Regions from separate parts of the Homo sapiens genome. Here all the other regions are linked to region 2. The links are contacts of gene promoters, found by promoter capture Hi-C in human tissues and cell types (Jung and others, 2019). All regions are on one chromosome and are shown on one strand. The core of a region is centred on a gene start or on the middle of the fragment in contact, and the rest is flanking DNA. Distances in the headings are between cores, read along the strand shown. Region 1 has its middle 24 kb from the start of ALDH3B2. Region 2 holds the start of POLD4 (DNA polymerase delta 4, accessory subunit). Region 3 overlaps PC (pyruvate carboxylase). Region 4 overlaps PC (pyruvate carboxylase).

Region 1 (4,533 bases), core at 1,468-3,967, 350 kb after region 2:
ATAAAATAAGAAACTTGAAGAAAGTTAGTTCTGAGAAAAGATATCAATAACATTTATGATTTAAAGGGGAAGCTTTGAAGAGGAACCTTTGCTTTCTACAGTCAAGGTCTCACTAAGTTGCCCAGGCTGGTCTTGATCTGCCCGCTGTGGCCTCCTAAAGTCTGGGATTGCAGGCATGAGCCACTGTGCCTGGCCCTTCCTTTTGGAAGCCCGGTTTGAATACTGCCCTCTTGTTTTTAGCTATTTGTTATGGCAGCAACCCACCTGCAATACAAAAATCCAGACAAGTTATCTGCTGCAGTATAACAAATTACCCCAAAACTGAGAGGCTTAAAACAGTTCTCAGTTATGATTCCACGGCTTCTCCAGGTCAGGAATCTGGCTGCAGCTTAGCTGGGCCCTCTGGCTCACAGTCCCTCCCAGGCTGCAACCCAGGCATCGTACTTGATGTGGGAATTGCTGTGGACCAGTGCCTGCTTCAGGCTTCCCACCAACCCCTTCCTGGCTTTGAACAGAAATAGCCACAGCAGGCATCTTAGGTGTCATAGACAGAGAGACTCTATTTTTGTTGTTTGATCACCGACAGCTTCTATGTCCCCATCCCTCCACTTTGCCCCATATCTGGGTGGCCCAATCAGAGAGCCCAAGGGTGCCCTCTGTCTCTTGGCATGAGTGGGAATTTCAAACCACATCAGCCCCAGGCTGCACCTGGGCACCTCCACCCGGGTCATCCTTCTGCACGGCAGAAACCTGAGGCCACTTCTTCCCTCCCCACACAGCTTATTCTGCTCCAGACCAACCTTGAGCCCTCCTGTGGGAGGAAGGGCTGTTTCTCCTCTTGCTGTTTATTATGTGAGTGATAAATTTGATGTCATGTCCATTGGTGCCAATGTCTTTCATCCCAGTATCCACAAATCCCTGGGTGGGGGCCGCCCAGTGTCCGGCAGGGATGCCAGGCACCCAAATCACACAATTTATGCTGGGAACCGGAGGGCTGGATGCCGATCCTACATAGCATGTGTTTCTTCTCTCACTCTTGGCTTACTCACCAGGTCCATACCACAGGTAGTGGGCTCAGACTGGCCTGGACCGTCTTGGCCGATTGCTGGCACGCCTGTGCTCTGGGCCACATCACTTTAGGGTGGTTCTCCTGGGATTTTCCAAGCATCTGCTTTAAAAGTAGCAGCTTAAGCCAGAGGTAATGATGGGGAAAGGGGGCTGAGGAGCCAGACATAAAGTGAATCCTGACCCCAGACTGGACCCTAGTAGTTGGTAGCATCATTCATTGGAGGGAATGGTTATATGTCTCAGCCAGAAGCTGGCCCCACATTTCCCAAACGCTGCACGTAAAAAGGCAAGAACTCCCCGCGGGGGCCACTGTTTGAACAAGAATTTATGTGGTGTTCAGAGCCCCAGGATTCCCATGGCAGAGGTTCCTCAGGGCTCGGCAAGCAGGTACATTACTGCTGCTGTCCTCACTGCCGTGACATGGTCATGCACACTGAGACTCCCTGGAGAAAAAAATTAAATAAACCCCCCCCCTAAAATATCCCTAATTACAAAAGGTGAAGATAAAATGACTCAGGTCAAGGAAAAAAATTGTCCTAACTGTCATCCAAAAGACCACCAGGACGGCTACACAGTCGAAAGAGGAGCTTTACTGGCAAACTGGGAGGAGAGACTCATCTCAAACAAACAAAAAAGGAAATGTAATTGCCATTGTAACAATGTCGTGGAGGGGACCCTCCATAGGCGATTAGGTCATGAAGGCTCTGCCCCCATGAATTAATTAATCCTGTTATGGCAGGAGTAGGTTAGTGATCACGAGACTGGGTGTGTTATAAAAGTGAGGTCGGCCTGATTTCCTCCCTGTCTCACATGCTTGCTTCTGCCTTACACCCTTCTGCCACAAGATGACCCTTGCCCAAAGCCAGCACCATGCTCTTGGACTTCCCAGCCTCCAAAACTGGGAGAAATAAATTTCTTTTATCAGTTGTCCAATTTGTGGTGTTAATTTGCAGACTAAGACAGGCTTTCTAATAACGTTTGTTGGGGCTACTTGGATTTTTGAGGCAACATATTCCCACTTACACATTTCATGAAAACCTCTTTATTCAATTTCTCCTAAGTCTGCTCATTATAAACAGCCACTTCACACAAGCCCTCCAGGCTGTGTAGGGAACGGCTCCACCATGGCACCCTGGTGGCCCTGAACATATCCACACAGGCTACAGAGGCGAAAGCTCAAACTGAGGCTCATCTGAGTCATGACAGGACACTTTGTGATCCTCCAGAGAGTGGGAGGCCTGTAGGAGCTGCTACCACTCCCGTTGGCTCCCTGTCTCCCCCAGGAGGCTGTCATGAGAAGGTTCTGCATGGCCTTCGGGTTCTGATGAGGCCTGCCACTGTCTGTCCTGCCCTCTTCTGAACAGAGTTGCTGTTGCAGGAAATCAGGGACCCTGAACGGAGTGACCAGCTGGAGCCGTGCCATAGGAACATAAATTGTGAAGATTTCATTTTAATATGGACATTTATCAGTTCCCAAATAATACTTTTATAATTTCTTATGCCTGTCTTTACTTTAATCTCTTAATCCTGTTATCTTCATAAGCTAGGATGTACATCACCTCAGGACCACTGTGATAATTGTGTTAACTGTACAAATTGATTGTAAAACATGTGTGTTTGAACAATATGAAATCAGTGCACCTTGAAAAAGAACAGAATAACAGTGATTTTTAGGGAACAAGGGAAGACAACCATAAGGTCTGACTGCCTGTGGGGTCAGGCAAAAAGAGCCATATTTTCTTCTTGCAGAGAGCCTATAAACGGACATGCAAGTAGGAAACATATTGCTAAATTCTTTTCCTAGCAAGGAATATTAAGATTAATATCCTGGGAAAGGAATGCATTCCTTGGGGGAGGTCTATAATAACCGCTCTGGGAATGTCTGTCTTGTGCAGTTGAGATAAGGACTGAGATATGCTCTGGTCTCCTGCAGTACCCTCAGGCTTACCAGGGTGGGGAAAAACTCTGCCCTGGTAAATTTGTGGTCAGACTGGTTCTCTGCTCTTGAACCCTCTTTTCTGTTGTTTAAGATGTCTATCAAGACAATATATGCACTGCTGAACATAGACCCTTATCAGTAGTTCTGCTTTTGCCCTTTGCCTTGTGATCTTTGTTAGACCCTTATTAGTGGTTCTGCTTTTTGCCCTTTGAAGCATGTGATCTTTGTACTTACTCCCTGTTCTCACACCCCCTCCCCTTTTGAAACCCTTAAGAAAAACTTGCTGGTTTTGAGGATCAGGCAGGCCTCATGGTCCTACTGATATGTGATGTCACCCCGGCAGCCTAGCTGTAAAATTCCTCTCTTTATACTGTCTCTCTATTTCTCAGCCAGCCGACACTTATGGAAAATAGAAAGAACCTACATTGAAATATTGGGGGTGGGTTCCCCCAATATCTGGCACACCAACGTGGTTTTCTTTTTCCTAAGTGCATGTGGGAACCCGATTCCCTTTGGTAGGTATGTAGAAACGTTCATCGGTCCGGTCCACAGAAACCCTTGTTCGGCTCCCTGACAACTGGTGAGTTGTCTGTGTATTGTCCGGGGTAACTATGAGTCATGCAGAATCTAAACATTATGCTTATCTCTGCTATATTAAACTCCTGTTAAAACAGGGAGGAGTTTGGGTACCCATGGAAAATATGGTCACCCATTTCAGGGCGGTGGAAGAACACTGTCCTTGGTTTCCTCAAAAGGGAACGTTAGATGTGGAACTTTGGGATTGTGTTGGTGCAAAATTCCGGGAACCGGTCCCAACAGGAAATTATGCTCCCGTCACTGTTTGGGGTGATTGGGCCTTGGTACGTGCCATCCTAATGACATACCAATCCTGTGACCCCCTGCAGTTACCACAGTTTTCTGAATCTGGAGACCCTCTACCTCTTCCTCAGCTTTCCTCTCCCACTCGGCCTTTGTTATCTGCTCAGCTTCTCCCTTCACCTACTCCTCCCCAACCTGAGAATGTTGAGGATTCAATATCTAACTCCGGTGACTTTGGCTTAATGTCACCCCCTGATGATTTTATTTCTTTTCACGAATTGCTGGTACTTGTAGCTCCCGCGGCCCCGACTTGGACAGCCCGAGACCATATCTATGCTATCTTCCCTCTTCAAACCTTTGCAGCCTTTGCCTCCGGAGCCATCTAATGGCTCTGGGACCAAACTACAATTTATCTGTAATTCTGCAGACCCTCCCCCGTCCACCACAGCCCCTCACCCTCCTGTCATTTCGGTCCCTCAACCGGTCACTTTGCCATCCACTCAAACTGCTTCTCTGTACCCTTCTTCAAGCATGGACACCCCTGCCACTCTGGTTGCACAGGATTGGGCAATAATCACCAGCTTCTGCCCCTTCTGCTCCCCCAATGCCCCTTTCTCGTGCTCTCATACTGGCCCGACCTCCTCAACCTCAGTTTCCCTTATCTACACATACTTTTCCTGTCACTTCTATGCTGACTCCGTCTCATG
Region 2 (4,359 bases), core at 349-2,848:
TGGGTGGTGAGCAAGAGAGCTAAGGGCAGGAGGTCTTACGTGGTGCCTCATAGGGGATAGAGATGCCAGAGACTGTGGAAGATGGGGTGGGAGGGAGGGATACCCCAGAGAGAGAGAGAGAGAAACAGAGAATCAGTTGTTGAGTCCCTGGATCTGATTTCACCAGCTTATTCTTGGCCATGCCCATAGTCCTTGGGAAACCCCTCAGTTCTAAATAGATAGTTCCTTGGGTCCTGGGTGTACCTTTGCCCCCCACTAGCTTGTAGAGGTAAGAATTATTGGCCGGGTGTGGTGGCTCACGCCTGTAATCCCAGCACTTTGGGAGGCTGAGGTGGGTGGGATCACGAGGTCAGGAGATCAAGACCATCCTGGCTAACACGGTGAAACCCTGTCTCTACTAAAAATAGAAAAAATTAGCCGGGCGTGTTGGCGGGCGCCTGTAGTCCCAGCTACTTGGGAGGCTGAGACAGGAGAATGGCGTGAACCCGAGAGGCGGAGTTTGCAGTGAGCCGAGATCGCGCCACTGCACTCCAGCCTGGGCAACAGAGCAAGACTCTGTCTCAAAAAAAAAGAATTATTATAGTGGCGTGTCCTCCTGAGCCAGGCACCTCATAGAATCTTCTTGCCTGTTCAGCAAGGCCTTCCAACCCTCCATCCATTTCTCCCTCAGGTCAGGACAGCAGGGTGACAGTGCCTGGAGAAGGCCCTGGCTCCCCTGAAAGCCCTCCCGGCCTGTCTCTGACCTGCACTGGAAGCGGGGGTCTCCGGGGTGGGTCTTCAGCACCTGCCACACCTCTGGGGGAGGCTCCAAGCCCATCTGCTTGGCCCGACACCAGCGCTGCAGCCGTGTGATCCCTGCCAGGGTGGGAAGAAGACTCTGGAGACTTGTGGGGGGTGGGGTAGAGTCTGAGCTGGAGAATGTGTGTGTTGGGGGGAGACAGTTCCTGAGGGTCAGAGTCACGCAAGCGCTTGGGTGACTTCAGAGACGTGTGGGTGACTGGCTGGGAGAGGCGCCTCCGTGGGGCTGGGTGGGTTCTCACCGGTGCAGGGCCCGTACTGCCAGGCCAGGTCAAACTGCCTCAGCAGCTCCAGCTCCGCTTCCTCCTCGTCGCGGGGCTGGGGCTCCTCCCCTGCAATGACAGCTGCTCTTCAGTACGAGGTTGGCTTCAGTCTCCTGCCCCTCACCTCCCAGCCTTCCTCACCACCGCTTTGCCTCTGCCACCCCGCAGCTAGACCTGGTGTCGGGAGGGGAGGACAGGCCACCTTTCCCTTTCCATCGGCCCCTCCGCCCCTCTAGGGGCCTCCTCTAGGCCCCTCCGTGTCCACTCCTCCTGCCTCCCTCACACCTCAGAGACCTAGCTCGGGTGCCAGCTCCCCCTTGCTGTGCCCAGCGGGCCCCTCCCTCCTCTTCACAACCGGGTAGGAATCAGTGATGAGCCGCTTCCGGCCCATGGCGGCCACCCAGGCAGGCAGAGAAGGAGGCAACTGCGGGGAAGAGGAGAGACCGGCCAGTGGGCGCGAGAAAGACAGCTGCTGAGAGAGACAGACGGGGCCAGGCCAGCGGCGGGCAGACAAGATGACCCAGACAAACCGAGAGAGGAAGTCGCCGGGGTCCAGGGAGGGACGCCTCCCCCACCCCCAAAAGCACGCAAACAGGAAAGACTTCAGCCAATGGCAGGCCGCCTATGCGGGGCGGGGCCCTGGCGCTAGCCAATGGTAGGCAGTGTAGGGTGAGGGGCGGGGCGGTGCCTCAGCTGTGGGCCGCGGGAGGAGGGGCAGGCTGGGGCGGGGGACCTGTCGGGATGCCCCGACTTCACCACCTTCCCCGGCCCCCATTGGTCTGCTGTGGGTCCCGAGAGACTTCAGGAGAGTTATCTTCAGCCTCTCACTTCCCGTTTTCCCTTCCTAGGCAAATGTTCTTTTCAGCTTCGCTAATCCCCGTGGCCAGTTTGTAACTCCCTAGAGTCCAGCTGGAGCCTTCACTCGGTCCTTTGGCCCGCCCCGCCTTGTGGGGGCAGGTCTGGAGGTCTGAAGAGAGTTTGGGCTAATCCAGGCCCCTTCCCGGCTCCCACCCAACCCCCACTGGCCCCAGGAGACCTGGCTGGAGAAGCCCATGGGTTCTGAAACCTCCTTTCTCACAGTCTGTGCCCAAAGATGCTGCCCACTCTTAGTCCGAGTAAGTGTTTGCCGTTTTGACTCTCCTGGGGTCCCAAGTCGTGTCCGGCCCGCCCCACCAGTCAGGAAGATTCCATACTGAGTAGGAAGGCAGAGCAAGGGTCTGGTCCCCCCACCACAATGTGTTTGGATCCCTAGTTCTTCACTGGCAAAATCTGCCCTGTCTCTCACAATAATGTGAGTCTGAGCAGAAAATATTAATAATAAACCTAACACTCATTGCACGTACCATGTGCCAAGTACTGTTCTAAGCACTTTCCCACATGTTAATTAAAATAGATGTCAAAAAGTTTTTGAAAGTAGGAAGTATAGCTAAATGATTATCACTGCTGATAGTCACAGGCATTGTAGGGCCCCAATCAAACCACAGTCTCTCTTGCACCCCAGGAGCTCACTGTCACAAGGCAGACAGATGCACAGTTGTCAGTGAGAGGCTATAATTCCTACCAGAAGAGGGAAAGGGTGGGTCAGAGATTGGTTAGGACCACAGGGATGATTAGCATTGGAAGGCCTCCTGGAGGAGGTGGACTGCTGTAAACAATGTCTCTCAATTCTCCACCCATGACCTTTGTCCCTTGGGCTCCTGTCATCACTGACTCACCCATACTGCTGCCTCCCCCTCACCAACTTCCTGGCAGGAGGCAAAAGTACTGGCCAGTGGGAGTCTGGGAACCAGCACAGGGACCAGCCCAGCTCTAATCACCCTCCAGAGATCCCATCCGGTTCTTCCTTCCAGGGATACTGGGAGGGTGGGGCACAGACTCCTGGGCTGCTGCCTGCTCAGAGGCCTCTGCCTCCTCCTTTCCCTGCTCTGGGGTCTGGGTGTTCTGCACTGGAAGAGGGCTAAGCCACTGGTACACGTGGGCACAAGGGAGGAAGCTGCTCTGGAAAGGAGACCACCAGAGGGGAGGCAGAGGAGCAGGCCATGTCTTCAGGGTCCACGTCCTGCCTGGCTCTCCCCATCGGCGTCCTAGAGGAGGGAGCTTGTGGGGGCACTGCATGGAGCTGGAGGGCCCTTTCTGCTGTATTGTTTGGGCTGGGCCTAGTCTAATCCCCCCATCTGCCTTGCGGACTAAGTGGGGCCCACATTCAGGGAGACAGTGTCCCTGCGGAGTTAGTGATGGAAGCAGGGAGGCCCTGTCTACCAGGGCTGGGAAGGGCCTAGGTGCTGAGTCCAGTCAGGTGCTGAGCATGCTAGGTAGGGATGGCGTCTAGGCTCTGGGGGATTGACTACCCCTCCCCAGAGGGTCTTGGCAAGGGTTCCTGGGCTGTTTCCAGAGGTGTGTGGCACCCACCTCCTGAGTCCACCAAGCCCTGAGGGAGTAGGGAGCCATGGGTGGGGCAGACCCCTCCTCATTCCCAGTCCCTCCCACCCCTGAAAGCTGATAGCCGTGGGGCCCTGCCACCGCCCAGGGAGCGTGAAATGGGGTGTGCCGCTGGGCAGCCACAGTAGCTCCTACCACCGCCTGGGCCTATTGCCTTTTCTCCTTGGGCAGCCTCTGGCATCCTGAGCTGCTCTGTAGATGTTGGCTGGGCTGTCCCTGCCAGCTTCCCCAGCTTTGCCTGGCACAGGCCCCAACCCAGGCTGGAAGATGTCTCCCTCAGGCTTCAGCTACCCCCACACCCAAGAAAAAGATTCAGAGTGGTCAGCTCAAGTGCAGGCACCCTAGGCCTGGCTTTCTGCCTTGGAGTTGAGGGAACTCTCTGCAGGCAGCATTGCTGCTCTCTCTTAGATGGCAGTAGGGTGGAGCCCCTAGGAAAGAGTTGGCACCCAGGGATTTTGGAACCATCCCTGTCCAACTGGCATGCCCTGACTCAGCACCTGAATCCCTAAGGTGCGCTGAGGACTAGGCTGGACCTTGACCTTCCTGTCCTCAGGTCTTTTCCTTCTTTGCTGTCCAACCCCATCCACCTTCTGTACCTTCTTGCCTAGAACCCCTTCACCTACTCAGGCAGCATCCTGGCCTCATTCCCTAAACTGCTGTCTTGGAGCCTGTTCAGGCTTCAGACTGGATGGCCAGGCCAGAGTTCTGGGTTGGGTGCTGAGTTCTCTCTCCCTGGGGGAATGTCCTGAGACCCTTGTGTCAGCCCCGACACCCAGAGGCTGGTGATGAGACTAGTAGGAGTGACCTTTGCACCTCAGCCTGGTAACAATACCCAAGACCCTTGCTTCAGGGCCAAGCC
Region 3 (4,654 bases), core at 947-3,446, 400 kb before region 2:
GGAGGATCGCTTGAGCATGGGAGGTCGAGGCTGCAGTGAGCCACGATCGCATCAGTGCAAGCCAGCCTGGGGCACAGAGCAAGACCCTGTCTCAAAACAAAAAACATGTAACTGAGTAGTTAGTTTAGACGTGTGATTTTACATAGAAATTTTACTAAGTTTAAAATCAGTACTGGCAGATGACAAACACATGACAAGATGCTCAACATCATTATCATTAGGAAAATTCAAATTGAAACCATGAGATACCACCATATACCTTTTTAAATGGCTAAAATTTAAAAGACTAACCATAGCCAGTGTTGGGGAGGATGAAGAGAAACTGGAACTCTCATACACAGCTGGTAGGAATGTAAAATACTACAACCACGTCAGAAAATTTGGCAGTTCAAGTTAAACATACATACAGCTACCACAGGATCCAGCCACTCCACTCCTAGGCATTTACCCAAGAGAAAAGGAAATATATGTTCACACAAAGACTTATACACAAATGTTCACAGTAGCTTTATTTGTAGATGCCAAAAAGTAGAAGCACCTGAGATGACCAACAAAGGTGACTGGATAAACTGTAATACCCATATAATGAAATCAGCAAAAAAAAAAAGCTGGGTGCGGTGGCTCATGCCTGTAATTCCAGCACTTTGGGAGGCCGAGGCGGGAGGATCACAAGGTCAGGAGATCAAGACCATTCTGGCTAACACAGTGAAACCCCGTCTCTACTAAAAATACAAAAACAAAATTAGCTGGGTGTGGTGGTGGGTGCCTGTAGTCCCAGCTACTCGGGAGGTTGAGGCGGAGCTTGCAGTGAGCCGAGATCGTGCCACTGCACTCCAGCCTGTGCGACAGAGCAAGACTCAGTCTCAAAAAAAAAAAAAGAACTGACCAGGAACAGTGGCTCATGCCTGTAACCCCAGCACTTTGGGAGGCCAAGGTGGAAAGTGGGAAGGACTGCTTGAGTTCAGGAGTTCAAGACAAGCCTAAGGGCCAGGTGCGGTAGCTCACGCAGGTAATCCCAACACTTTTCGAGGCTGAGGTGGGGTGGATCATTTGAGGTCAGGAGTCGAGACCAGCCTGGCCAACATGGTGAAACCCCCTCTCTACTAAAAATACAAAAATTAGCTGGGCGTGGTGGTGGGCGCCTCTAGTCCCAGCTACTTGGGAGGCTAAGGCAGAAGAATCGCTTGAACCCGGGAGGCAGAGGTTGCAGTGAGCCGAGATCATGCCACTGCACTCCAGCCTGGGCGACAGAGTGAGATTCCGTCTCAAAAAAAAAAAAAAAGCCTAAGCAACATACCGAGATCTCATCTCTACTAAAGATAGATAGATAGATAGATAGATAGATAGATAGATAGATAGATAGATAGATATGCCAGGCGTAGTGGCACACACCTGTAGTTCCAGCTACTCAGTGAGATGGGAGATCACTTGAGCCCAGAAGATCAAGGCTGCAGTGAGCTATGATCACGCCGCTATATTCCAGCTTGGGTGACAGAGCAAGACTCTGTCTTAAAAAAAAAAAAAAGAAGGAAATGAACTATCAATACAAGCAACAACATGGACATATCTCAACATAATTATGCTGAGTAAAAGAAGGCAGAGAAAAAAGAATATATACTGTATGAGTCAATTTATGTGAAATTCCAGAAAATGGAAACTAACCTATAGTAACAGAAAGCAGTTCCATGGTTTCCTGAAGAGTGAGGAGGCAGAGGGAGGAATTCCAAAGGTGATGAATGTGTTCACTCTCTGGACTGCAGTGATGGTTTCACAAGGGTACACATATGTTAAAACTTACTAAACTGTATACTTTAAATATGTGCAACTTATTATATCTCAGTAATACTCCAATAAAGCTATTGTAAAAACTAAAATGTATCACGCCTGTAATCCCAGCACTTTGGGAGGCCAAGGCGGGCTGATTGCTTGAGCTCAGGAGTTCGAGATGAGCCTGGGCAATGTGGTGAAACCCCGTCTCCACAAAAAGTACAAAAATTAGCCGGGTGTGGTGGCTTGAACCTGTAGTCCCAGCTACTCAGGAGTCTGAAAAGGGAAGATCACCTGAGCCTAGGAGGTAGAGGTTGCAGTGAGCTGAGACTGTGCCACTGTACTCCAGCCTGAGTGACAGAATCAGACCGTCTCAAAATAAACAAAAATAAACAAACAAAACATAAAACGGTATAGGAAAGTTTAAGAAAAGTGTAATATTCAGCTTCATTTATTAGATTTACAAGAGTCATTTAGGTATTAGAGGGTTTTTTTAATCAGAAAAATGGAAGAATTATTATTATTATTTATTATTATTATTATTTTTTTGAGATGGAGTCTTGCTGTGTCGCCAGGCTGGAGTGCAGTGGCATAATCTCAGCTCACTGCAACCTCCGCCTCCCGGGTTCAAGCGATTCTCCTGCCTCAGCCTCCCAAGTAGCTGGGATTACAGGCGCGTGACCACCACACCCAGCTAATTTTTGTATTTTTAGTAGCGACAGGGTTTCACCATGTTGGCCAGGATGGTCTCAATCTCTTGACCTCGTGATCTGCCCGCCTTGGCCTCCCAAAGTGCTAGGATTACAGGCGTGAGCCACCCACCATGCCCGGCCAGAAGAATTATTAAAATAGTTAACTGAAGTTGAATATGATTTATAAGTTCAATTGAAACATTTCAGAAGTTTCATCAAATTTGCAAATGGGACCAAGCATTAATCAAAAAGCCCCCTAAGGCCGGGGCGGCGGCTCACGCCTGTAATCCCAGCACTTTGGGAGGCCGAGGCGGGCAGATCACTTGAGTCAGGAGTTCGAGACCAGCCTGACCAACATGAAGAAACCCCGCCTCTACTAAAAATACAAATTAGCCAGCATGGTGGCGGGCGCCTGTAATCCCAGCTACTCAGGAGGCTGAGGCAGAAGAATCGCTTGAACCAGGAGGCGGAGGTTGCAGTGAGCCGAGATCGCGACAGAGCGAGACTCCATCGCAAAAAAAATAAATAAATAAAAGCCCCCTGAAAGTGACTGTTAAAATGTCCTAGAATCGTAAATAGATCAGAAAGATTTATAGGCTACACTTATAAGCTAAACTTAAAAGACTGGCCCTTAAAATAACTAGGTTTCTGAATTCATAATTTTAACAAATTGAAAATCAATTGTTTTCGACCAAAGTAATTTCTGAATAATCTTTGCATTACATAAAAATCCAGGGGTAGGAGTGGGTGTGGCATCCAAACCTCCCTCAGACATGCCACGCACCAGTCACCCGAAACTCACCAAGTCGCTTAGTCTCTAGTCTCTCTGAACCTCTGGTTCCTCACACATTGCAAGAGACAAATATTTTCCAGAATAAATAATATACTTATTATTAATGATTTAATATTAATACATTTCACATTGATACACAGCATGTACATGAGAAGAGGCTCCAAAGCAGCATAAAGTGATGTGCAAACGTAATAAATGGGCAGCATGTGTCACTTCATAGTAACTGCAGCACTCAGTGACAGACAAGAGAAAGGTGACACACATCCCCAGAGACTAAGTATGACTCAGCATGGCCAGGTCGTGGAATTTTCCCAAAGCCTCGTTGTGATGTCATGGTGGATGTCATCAGGAAAGGAGCTGCCACAGAAGCAGTCAGGCCCTTCCACACACAGGCAGTGGAAATGTACTCCCAGCTGTCCCGTGCCCTCCCGGCCCCACCTCTTTCTCTGGCCTCGAGGCATATCAGGACAAGGAGGTAACACAAGAGTAGGAAACCCGAGGTAGTGCTGGGAGTACCTGGGGTAACGCCTTCAGGCATAACACTTAACAACACAACAAAGGGCCACATCCATGTCCCCCCAGGAGAAAGCTGAAGAGGAGGGGAGGGTGACAAGCTTAGACTACAGAGCCTTAGTCCCTAGGCAAAGCTCAAGTCAGCAGTGCCTTGGGAACTGAGGAGCCAAACAAGCTTTGACAAATTACATAACCTGGAAGAAGAGGTCCCTTCTTGGTGACTGATTTTCCCTCTCTATTGATGGATCTAAGGGAAGACATCAATAAAATATGGCAATTTTAAAAGAAGAATAAACAATGGGATCAGCATCTTGGATTCTGCTAAGCAGCCTTCTCTAGGCTTCAGTTTCTTCAGTTCCATAAGACAAGTGGTTTGGGGGGAACCTTCCCCAACATGCCCACCTCTCATTGTAGGGATGCAAGTAAGAGAAATAACATCCAACTCTAGCAGCCAAGAATAAGAGGACAGAGCAAGCAGAGAGAGAACAAGGGGGTGAAACTCGTGGAGGGTGGAGTTCTTCCACGTTACGGCCATTCCCACCATGAGCCCATTGCCCTTACTCAATGGTAGCACGCAGACGGCACCTGCTGGCCCAAGACCTAGCTCCAAGGGAGGACTGCGGGAAATCTCACACAGGAAACCAGCTCCTGCGTCATGAAGGGTCGTCAGAGGAAAACCCCCACATAATGGGTGGAAAACCGAGAAAAACTCCTATACCAAGGAATCCCCACTCAGCACTGGATATGAGCTCTGGAGAAAGTTGTCCCTGAGCCACAAAGTCCCCAAGGCCACAGCGGGCCTGAAGGGAAGAGCATTATTGTTGTCACAAATGCTGGGAGAGCACCTGGTTCCCTGGCTCGGCTGCTCCTGCAGACCAGCAGGGGGAGA
Region 4 (4,562 bases), core at 1,363-3,862, 460 kb before region 2:
TTACCCCTGCTCTCAACACCTTCTTTCTCTCTCTCCATCAACACAGGCACTTGGAGGTTGAAGCGTGGGGGTGTAAAATCACGCTTTTTGGTGGACATGGCAAATGCCTATTCTATAGCAGAACTTAGCCCCCGCCCCCTACCCCCTCACTCCCCCTCCCAAACTGCACACATACACCAAACCCAACCAGACACCTCCTCCTTCCTTCCTCACCACCCTCTCCCTGGTCACCAAGGGTTAAGCTTAGGGTCTTCTTTAGCTCTTCCCCTCCCTCACCTACCATCTGGTCAAGAAGTCTGGGCAGTTTTACCTCTTTAATCCCTCACATCCTTCCCTCTTTTCATTTCTAAGAAGAGGACCCTGAAATGTCCTCTTCTTACTACTTAACTATCGTAAAAACCTCCTACTCATTACCACAGCTCTAGCTACCAATCCACATTAGGTACTAGGGATAGCTAGCATCCCCAAATACAGGCATGACGGCACTCTTCCTGAAAAGTGGGGTAATTCTCTGACTCCCCACTGTCTGTAGGTGGGAAACTCAAGTCTCCTTGGGGACCTCCCCCAAAATTAGTGCACCCTGCCTGTCCAGCCTTGTCCCCCCATGCCCCAGCCTCCCGGATTCTCCAGCTGCAGCCCAGCTGCCTCCTCTTTGTTCTCAGAAATCCTAGCACCTGCCCCTCTCCCTCAGAGCACTCCCTCTACCATTAGAACACCCTTCCCGTCCCAGCTTTTGCCCATGCAAGTCCTGCTCCTGTCTCAGGTATGCATCTAATTTTTCTCCCTCCCTTATGAAATCCCACTAAGACTTCAGCAAATATATATATATTTTTAAAGCTATGAACCCCCAAGGGCAGAACAGGAGAGGAGACAACAGCAACATGACTGCAGAAGCTGGAGCGCAGCTCGCGTCAGCTGACCTCACAGCCTGGGTCTGGAGCAGGCTGAGAACACCCGGGTTCCCACCATCCACCAGGAATCCTCCAAAGGCCAGGGAACTGCAGCTCCAGGCCTCCCACCTCCACAATGGGCTGAACGGGCTGCCGTGTATAAAGAGGGCAGGCTGAAAGCTTTCAAAAAGCAATCAGGGCTGGGCACAGTGGCTCGCACCTGTAATGCCAACACTTTGGGAGGCCAAGGCGGGTGGATCACCTGAGGTCAGGAGTTCGAGACCAGCCTGGCCAACATGGTGAAACCCCGTATCTACTAAAAATACAAAAATCAGTTGGGCGTGGTGGCATGCACCTGTAGTCCCAGCTACTCAGGACGCTGAGGCAGGAGAATCACTTGAACCCAGGAGGCGGAAGCTGAAGTGAGCCGAGATTGTGCCATTGCACTCCAGCCTGGGTGACAAGAGTTAAAACTCCGTCTCAGGAAAAAAAAAAAAAAAAATAGCAGTTAGACCCCTACCTCCCCCATCTCATGCCAGAGACCTCCCCTCTCCAGCCCTGGAAGAACAGAGGTTTACTTTCTGGGGAGGGAAAAGTGTGGGGTCTCTGGACTGGGAAATTCGAGGCACAGTTGAGGGCCTGGGGACCTTGCCAAAAATGGGGGTGGCAGGTTACGTGACTCTTTGCATGCTACCCCCTTCCCCAACTGAGCTCCCAGGTGTTGACACTGAGGTTCCCCAACAAACAGCCTGCCCAGATCATGTACTGGTAAACTCAGAACTGGACCCCCACCTGCTCCAGCTCCCAGGCAGCATTTTAGACCCTCCTAATAATTATGAGTGGGCAACCAAAGGTCCCTGGGCAGATTCATTCAAAGAGGATGGAGACCAAAGGAAAGAGCAGAGAAAGCAATTTGGAGGAAACCAACTATGCAGGGAGAAGAAAACTTAGAGACAAACATGGCATTCACATTCTCACAGAAATAAGAAACGATTACATCAGTGAAAACATAGGATGCTACACACATTTTTAAAGAACCATTTGGGGAGCAAAAAAGCTCTTGGAAATTAAAAAATACAATAAGACAAAGCAATAGAAAGGTTGAAAGATAAAAGGAAATCTTCTAGAAACTGAAGAAAAGAGACAAAGAGATGGAAAATAGGTGAAAAAGGGAAAAAAATTAGAGGGTCAGTCCAAGAGATCCAAAAACTAAATAATAGGAGTTTCAGAAAGACAGAACAGTAAAAAACAGAGGGCAAGAAAAGGAATGTTTCAAGAAACTCCCAGGATAGGACATGAGTTTCCACACTGGAAGGACTTGCTGAGAGCCTCACGAAACAGATGAACACAGGCCTACACCAAGGCACTGTGTCCAATTTCAGATCCTGTAAGCTTTCCCAAAGGAGGGTAAAAAGAAAAAAAAGACAAAAGTATCAGAAATCAGAAAGGTTTTGGACTTCTTAGCAGTTTCAGAAGTTAGAAAAGTGCAAAGCAATCCTTCAAACTTGTCAAGGAAAAATTGTTTCCAACCTGAAATTCTCTTTTTTTTTTCTTTCCGGAGACAGTCTGGCTCTGTCATCCAGTCTGGAGTGCAGTGGCACAATCTCAGCTCACTGCAACCTCCACCTCTTGGGTTCAAGCAATCCTCTGCCTCAGCCTCTCGAGTAGCTGGGATTACAGACATGTGCCACCATGCCTAGCTAATTTTTGTATTTTCAGTAGGGATGGGGTTTCACCATGTTGGCCAAGATGGTCTTGAACTCCTGGCCTCAAGTGATCCACCTGCCTCGGCCTCCCAAAGTGCTGGGATTACAGGCATGAGCCATGGCTCCTGGCCCCAACCTGAAATTCTCTATCCAGCTAAACTATCAACCATGTATGAAAGTAAAATAACAAGAAAAGGCAAAGGTCTTTGTTAGGAAGCTGCTGTCAATATGCTGCACCCAAACAAGGGAGCAAGCAAACGAGAAAGAGGAGCGGGGAACAAAGGAGAAAGACAGAGGAAATCCCTGGGAGAGGGCACGCCAAGGGAGCAGAGGGGCAAGGAGGATGGACAGCGCCGCTGGCTCCCTTCAAGGGGAACTAAAGGAAAATGAAGCCTCACTCTTACTGATGAGAGGGCCTATGCCGAACCTGACCGCAAGACACGAAAGCAGCAAGAACATAACACCTGAAGCCTAACCCACACCTTAGCAGGAGGCCCCTGATCCCCACGGACCACAATGTGGATGCTGTGAAAATCTGCCTAGATGAGAAGCGTCCGCCTATATATACGCACATACACTCATAAACATAGAGTATTTCTAGAATGACACTTCAGGAGCTGGTAACAGTGGCTGCCTCTGGGAAAGGTTTCTCTTTCACTGCTGATCCTTTTGTTTTTTGTTTGTTTGTTTGTTTGTTTTTTGAGATGGAGTCTCACTCTTGTCGCCCAGGCTGGAGTGCAGTGGTGCAATCTCGGCTCACTGCAACCTCTGCCCCCGGGATTCAAGAGATTCTCATGCCTCAGCCTCCAGAGTAGCTGGGATTACAGGCGCGCACCACCATGCCTGGCTGATTTTTTTGTATTTTTAGTAGAGATGGGGTTTCACCATGTTGGCCAGGCTGGTCTCGAGCTCCTGACCTCAGGTGATCCACCTGCCTAGGCGTCCCAAAGTGCTGGAATTACAGGCATGAGCCACCGCGCCCAGCCTTGACCCTTTTGAATTGGCACCATGTACTTGATTATCTATTCAAAAAGTGACTAAGTCGGGGTGCAGTGGCTCACACCTATAATCCCAGCACTTTGGGAGGCCGAAGCAGGCAGATTACCTGAGGCCAAGAGTTCGTCACCAGTCTGGCCAACATGGCAAAACCCCGTTTCTACTAAAAATATAATAAATTATCTGGATGTGGTGGCACACACCTGTAGTCCCAGTTACTCGGGAGGCTGAAGCAGGAGAATTGCTTAAACCCGGGAGGCAGAGGTTGCAGTAAGCAGAGATTATGCCACTGCACTCCAGCCTGGGCGACAGAGAGAGACCTGCCTACAAAAAATAAATAAACAAAAAGCGAATAAAATACAACATGCGAAAAGCTATCCTCCTTCAAAGCCTCACTTCATTGCCCCCTCCCTGAGGAAGCCTTCCCCGGTTCCCAACCCAGGACCAGAGTAAGACAGGGACCCTCCTCCTGGCCTGCTTCTCCCCAGGCCCTGGTTAGCGAGTACAGGTCATGTATCCAGCCTTGAGCTCTACGGGGGCAGACATAACTAACTCATCTTTGTTATGTCCACTTGGTAGAGATAACTTGCTCCAGGAGCACTGGAAAGAAACTTTCATTTTCTGCCTACAATATTCCAGGCATCTTCCTTTTAGCCCACTGAATTGTCACCACAATCTCATGGGGTATTATCAACCCTCATTTTACTGAAAAGAAAATTGAGGCTGGGAAGGACCCACAGGAAGTAGCAAACTCAAGAATAATTAAGGCTGCCCAGCTCCAGGGCCCCTGTTTTTTCATGAGAGCAGCTAGCCTGGTGCCTAGCTCACAGTACAGTTCCAAAAATGTTTAACTCAACCAAATTAAATTGGAATTAAGATTAAACTGGAATTAAGATTTTCTTCTGGAGCTGGGGTCCTCCCATGTTCTGAGATCCTGAAAAAGCAGCTGAGGGCCCTCAGTGGCAGACAG

The links. Contacts are between HindIII fragments. The study calls those that stand out against the background at their distance.
Region 1: a fragment that was not itself captured here is called in contact with the fragment with the promoter of POLD4 in region 2 in 1 of the 25 tissues and cell types used here (lymphoblastoid cells).
Region 3: a contact is called between a fragment that was not itself captured here and the fragment with the promoter of POLD4 in region 2, in 1 of the 25 tissues and cell types used here (dorsolateral prefrontal cortex).
Region 4: a contact is called between a fragment that was not itself captured here and the fragment with the promoter of POLD4 in region 2, in 1 of the 25 tissues and cell types used here (dorsolateral prefrontal cortex).

The regions. Positions count from the first base shown.
Region 1 is chr11:67,696,112-67,700,644 of GRCh38, forward strand. No RefSeq gene overlaps it. Among named protein-coding and RNA genes, the nearest start is that of ALDH3B2, 24 kb to the left of the region's middle. The HindIII fragment of the contact is 5,827 bases long and covers 1-4,533 here.
Region 2 is chr11:67,351,948-67,356,306 of GRCh38, forward strand. It overlaps POLD4 (DNA polymerase delta 4, accessory subunit), which reads right to left and starts at 1,599. Exons shown (of 4, transcript NM_021173.5): 1 at 1,356-1,599; 2 at 1,041-1,130; 3 at 744-855; 4 at 1-72. The coding sequence starts at 1,452. The coding sequence ends at 48. The region is part of intron 2 of LOC100130987 (a long non-coding RNA gene); the gene reads left to right. RefSeq lists enhancers at 279-861, 862-1,443, 1,437-1,486 and a silencer at 1,667-1,916. The HindIII fragment of the contact is 15,541 bases long and covers 1-4,359 here.
Region 3 is chr11:66,946,696-66,951,349 of GRCh38, forward strand. The region is part of intron 3 of PC (pyruvate carboxylase); the gene reads right to left. Among named protein-coding and RNA genes, the nearest start is that of PC, 9.4 kb to the right of the region's middle. The HindIII fragment of the contact is 7,176 bases long and covers 1-4,654 here.
Region 4 is chr11:66,893,652-66,898,213 of GRCh38, forward strand. The region is part of intron 3 of PC (pyruvate carboxylase); the gene reads right to left. Among named protein-coding and RNA genes, the nearest start is that of MIR3163, 39 kb to the right of the region's middle. The HindIII fragment of the contact is 7,533 bases long and covers 1-4,562 here.